Linked DNA regions of Homo sapiens: region 1 is linked to region 2. The links are contacts of gene promoters, found by promoter capture Hi-C in blood cells and fetal thymus (Javierre and others, 2016). All regions are on one chromosome and are shown on one strand. Each heading gives the region's core, a stretch centred on a gene start or on the middle of the fragment in contact. The rest is flanking DNA. Distances are from core to core; before and after follow the strand shown.

Region 1 (2,700 bases), core at 8-2,507, 170 kb before region 2:
TCAAATGTTCTGAAAGCATTAGCAGTCATTACACAAATCAGGGCCATAGAAATCATGAATAATTTACTGATGAACATTAAGATTTTATATTCTGTGACATACATGGTAGAAGCTTATTGGTGAGTTTTGAAGGAGATGTGAAGAGGCTGCTGGTAGGAAAGGGAAACAGAAAGCTAAGGTGACTTCTACTGTACTGGCTGCTAATGAATTAATAAGAAGTGGTGAGTAAGAGGAGACAGAAAATCAGCTGGAGAAACTGAGCCTGTAGAGAGCCACCCTTTGCTCTTACCATGTTGAAAACCAAAACGGTAAAGCAGGATATAAATGAGACTTTGCATACAGACATGTGCCTGAATTCATACAAAAGACAGGGGTTTATCACAATGAAACCTGTTAAGGGCAACTGCATATGCCAGTCAAGTTCCACAGGAATTCCCCACTTCACATCTGCAGAGCTGTGCCCAAATCACAGTGATTTTATCTAGAATGAATGGCTCCATCAGCTACATTATCTGGTTGTACTGCCAACGAGTTGTTGGTGGTATTTTATGTTAAAACAAAATAACTGAAAATAACTAATATATAACCAAAGGTCATCAAAGTCAATCTAAGTACTTCCTAAATGGAAACTGAAACTTGAAGGGAATGAGGTTTTAAATTGAGCTTCTCACACAATTAGCAATTGCAAAAATATGGAACCAGCCCAAATGCCCATCAATCAACAAGTGGATAAAGAAAATGTGGTATGTATATACCATGGAATACTATTCAGCCATAAAAAGGAATGAAATAATGGCATTCACATCAACCTGGATGGAACTGGAGACCATTATTCTAAGTGAAGTAACTCAAGAATACAAAACCAAACATTGTACGTTCTCACTCATAAGTGGGAGCTAAGCTATGAGGATGCAAAGGCATGGGAATGATACAATGGACTTTGGGGATTCAGAGGAAAGGGTGGGAGTGGGGCGAGGAATAAAAGACTACACAATGGGTACAGTGTACACTGCTCGGGTGATGGGTGCACCAAAATCTCAGAAATCACCACTAAAGAACTTATCCATGTAAGTTAACACCACCTGTTCCCACAAAACCTATTGAATTAAAAAAAAGAAAAAAACACACATACACACAAATTGAGCTTCTCAGGCTAACTAAACACTACAAGAACAATAATGGCACAGTTCATGACCCCCACATTGACATTAATGAGCGTCAGGAGGCTAAGACATATACGTGGAAAATTCCATCTGATAGTGCAAAGGTGGGAGCAGAGAGCAGCTCACACACATGCAAACGAATCAGCAATAATTCACGAGTTGACAGAATGTTTGTCAATGAGGAGAAACTACATATTGTTTGGAGCAAGATAAAAATGAATATAAAAAAATACCAGCCATTTTGGGAACAGAGTGGGAGGGGAAATGACATAAAGGTTAGTTAAGTCTTGTGATGCTCAGGCCGCTTTTATCAGAGTGATTCAGTTGGACAAAAAATAGAAAAGGGTTTTCTAAGCCAAGACAGTCTTCCATTCATCTTTTCCCTTCTAAAATTATAGTCACCCTCCTTAACAATAAGGATCAGATTTTCAAAAAGTGAGTGTGGCTCATGTGTTTTTCCCTAGGCTTGGTCATATGATACAGATATCACCTTTCCACTCTTTAGAAGTCTGATTCTGTTTCCCCTTCCTTCATTCTTCCTCAACATGTGGAATAGTTCCAAAATAAAACATAATAGCTTTAAGATTTTCTATTTAAAATCATTATTTGACCACATAAATCTGAAAAAATAATGGGCAGTGGTCACAATGGTGGCCAAGACGGTGGAGGGTTCCTTCCTTCCTGTTTTGTGTTTAAATAATCAGGGGACTGTCCTCTGATTCCCATTCTTTGGCTTGGCCTGGCCTCTGGCAGAGGCTCCTGTTCTTCTCCTCTGCCTGGGTCCATGACAGACACAGCCTTCTGGAACAGAACTTCCTTCACCAGCAGAGGCTCTCTGATTCTTTTTGCTCTGGAAGCAAGAATGGGTTTTTGGATATGCTTTGATAATATGCAAGGAGTATACCTGGTATGAAAGCCTGTCAGCAGGCACTGCAGGTTCCTTTTCTAAAACTGGGAGCCTGACTCACATCCTCTGCTACTGACCCACCCCACAGTGTTATCCAACAAGTACCTGCATCAGCTTATTTGGCCAAGAAGCCAAATAAAACCCCATGAGAATCCATACTGTGGTGAACACTGTGGATGCCTCTCAGTGTGTGTATGTGTGTGTGTTGTGTGTGTGTTTGGGGTTGGGGGGGTGGTGAGGGAGAGGAGAGAGCAATTACCTATTAGGACATTTCTTACAGATCGTTCTAGAGTACAGTTCAGGACAAAGAAGAAGGGAAATGGTAAAGCTTTATCTCCCTCTAGCAGGAGTCCCAGCCTGTGGCTACAGTGAGATCTCCTCAGGGATCCCTTTTGTCCAGATGGCCTGGAGGGCCAGTGGGCGGATCCTCGCAGAGGTAATTGGCATAAGGCACCATATTGTGCCAGGGAAATTATTTTTCCTGCCAGAAGCTTGTTTAGCTAAGTCAGAAGAATGCCTCTGTGTTGGAGGGGAGCCTTCCTCACTCGGAACTTCTGATTTAGTTACGCCTCCCACCCCACCTCCAGTCCTCCTCCCCCAACTCCTTGCCCCGCTCCTGAGAGTAAAGCC
Region 2 (2,700 bases), core at 155-2,654:
CTAACCCACCGGCAATGGAAGAGATCCCATAGGTCACCGACTTCCTATTGAAAACAAATTATTTCTCTCTCAAACTGCTTGCCGTCTCTCAGAATTAATGCGTGTTTATGTGTGCATATTTTTATCTTTGGCCATGCAACTCTTGGAGCAAAGAGGACCACCCCAAATTTTACCGACATGCCTGAGCCATTCAGAGCTTTAGAAGAGAAATGAACGAGTGCTGAGAGCCCTTAAGCCCAGGACTTCTCTCACACAAACAGTAAGTGGAAAGGAAAAAACAAAAACAAAAACAAAAACTAACCCTCCGTAGAGGGAGGGAGCAGGGTGGATGATAGGGAAAGGACATTAACCAGCAGACCAAAGGCAGCCGCGGCGGCGGCACTTCGCGAACTGCCTGCAGAGGAGAGTGAAATCTGTTTCGTGTACAATAACCAAGCACCCTCTGGCTGCCTCGCATGGGCACGAATAATAAATACACCGAGGTGGGCAAACAGATGCAACGAAACGAGCCACCCCAAAAAGGTCAAAACTTCAGAAATCCCGGGGGTCAAACCACCCACACAAACACATCAATCAGTCGGAGCGAGAGAAGGGACTTGGATACTTAGCAAAGGATCCTAAATTGTGTTTTTCCTTTCAAGCTCTGGCTTGCAAAGTACGGTGGCTACATGCAAAGCTAGAGGAGAGCAGGAAGGCTGAGGGCGGCAGGGTGCGGGTGGGAAGGGAGGGGTGTCTAACACCAGCCACCCAGGCCTCGATGTGACGAAAGTCGTCAGCAGCCCCGACCACATCCCAGCCCCTCCGCCCAGGCCGGCAGACGCCCCTCGCGGCTCCCCCACCCCAGCTTCCGTCCCTGGCAGCAACCCCGCCAGCCCCGCACCAGCAGCAGCCCCGGCCCGGGCCCCGCGCAGGCAGCGCCACGACCGCGGCTCCCATCCCTTCCGTGCGGCAGACACCCCGCAGGCCTCCCTCCCTGCCCACCCGGGGATGCCCGGGTAGCCGAGCCGGGGCGGGCTGCACCGCCAGCTCCCCCCGCCCCAGAGCAGGCAATGGCTCACACTTACCTTGGGCGTTCGCGGGGGGGCTGAAGGTGGCAAGCCTCCCGCCCCCCGCCCCTGTCCTCCTCGTCTTTTTTCTTCCTCCCTCCTCCTCTTCTTCCTCCTCCTCCCCACAGTGTGTCCGGGGCTCCCCCTCCTCCCCGCCGCTTGGAGTAAGAACCCAAAACCCCGAAGCCGGGCCCGCGTGCAAGCGTGCGGGAGGCGGCGGCGCGCGGCCAGCTCTCCAGTAACTGAGCGCGGCGCGCAGCTCCCAACTAAAGTGTGAAAGAAGCAGCGGCCGCGGCGGCCGCGGCACGGAACGTCCCCCCGGGAGTGGGCAGGGAGCGAGCGGGAGCTTGCGAGGAGCGAGCGAGGGAGGGGAGCTCCTCGCTCAGTCACTCACTCGAGGGGCGGGGGCAGCAGACACTCCCCCACCGCCGGCCCCTCCCCGAGCCTAGCTCCCGCGCGCGCCTGGCTCTCCTCCCCGGGGCGGGGCCTGCGGAGGCCGCCGGGGCGCAGCGCGCTGGGGAGCGGGTTGGGGGCTGCTAGGGCTGCGGGGCGGGAAGGAGGCGGCAGTGTGTGTGTGTGTGTGTGTGTGTGTGTGTGGGCAGGTGTGTGTGTGTGTGTACGTGTGTGCGCGCGCGCCCTGCAGCGGCCGGCCAGCCGGAGGGAAGACCCCGGCGGGAAGACTGCGTCCCGTCCGGCCTTCCCGGGCCTGTCACTTGGGCGGTGGCGTGGGAGCGGCGAGGCTGCTCGGGGGGCAGCCGGGTGGGCCCAGCTCTAGGGGAGATTCGGGTCAGCCCCTGAGCCCAGCCTCCCGGCTGTGCCTGCTGGAAGCAGACGGAGGGAAGGCCGGGCGTCTTTGGCCCACCGCGCGGCCGCTCCCCTCCCGGGCCAGGCTGAACGGGCGGGCGCAGCCCAGAGGCCCGGGCTCTGCCACCGATCCGCCTCCATACTGACCCGAGCTGCGGCGCCTGCAAGATTAATGAAGCATCCGCGATTCGGTAGAGGCGGCACGGGGAGGAAAGACACAAGATCGTGCTGCCCCCCTCTCCCCACCCTTCTCAGCCTCCTAGGACCTAAAGGCGTAGGCTGCGTCTGCTGGGCGCGTCCGGAGTGGTCCAGAGAGATCGCCATCCACCACTGCATCCGTCCAGTTCTTTGTGGACCCTCACAGAAGCTCAATCAATTTCCCACCCTCTGGAAAAGGGTATTTTTCTCTTCCCTGGCATATTGGGTGTTTCTTGTGTGCACCTAATTGATCTTTTTCCATTGATAGCCTTTGGATGTCTTTTGTGCGGCTTCCCCGCGCTTCACTGCTCCCTCATTGCCTTAGACACGCGAGGAATGTCAGGCCCCCAGAGTGAGAACACCCAAGAAAACAATAGGGGCAAAAGATCCTCCCTGGGCCTCGCGGATTATGCACAAACCAGATCATTTCCCACATTCGGCCAGGGTGAAGATGGAAAATGGAAAAGAACGCCATCAGAGTGGTGACACTGACGAGAAAAGCCAATTCATAATTTAGTTTAATGAAATGAGTTAGTAATCAACCACTAATGTCTAGGAAATTGGCCTTTTTTGAAAACTGGTTTTCCCTTTCTCCACCCCTTTTTTTTTCAAATTAAAAGACTAGTATCCCACTGTTGTTGTTTTAATTTTT

What was found. The method cuts DNA at HindIII sites, captures the fragments that hold promoters and counts their contacts. A CHiCAGO score of 5 or more calls a contact.
Region 1: a fragment that was not itself captured here is called in contact with the fragment with the promoter of C1orf21 in region 2 in 5 of 17 cell types (megakaryocytes, M0 macrophages, endothelial precursors and 2 more); the score reaches 11.1 in megakaryocytes.

Annotation. Positions count from the first base shown.
Region 1 is chr1:184,555,668-184,558,367 of GRCh38, reverse strand. The region is part of intron 3 of C1orf21 (chromosome 1 open reading frame 21); the gene reads right to left. Among named protein-coding and RNA genes, the nearest start is that of C1orf21, 170 kb to the right of the region's middle. The HindIII fragment of the contact is 2,286 bases long and covers 115-2,400 here.
Region 2 is chr1:184,385,733-184,388,432 of GRCh38, reverse strand. C1orf21 (chromosome 1 open reading frame 21) reads right to left here and starts at 1,404. Exons shown (of 6, transcript NM_030806.4): 1 at 1,065-1,404. C1orf21-DT (C1orf21 divergent transcript) reads left to right here and starts at 1,729. Exons shown (of 1, transcript NR_172919.1): 1 at 1,729-2,680. RefSeq lists silencers at 1,369-1,628, 1,659-1,768, 1,859-1,918. The HindIII fragment of the contact is 4,352 bases long and covers 1-2,700 here.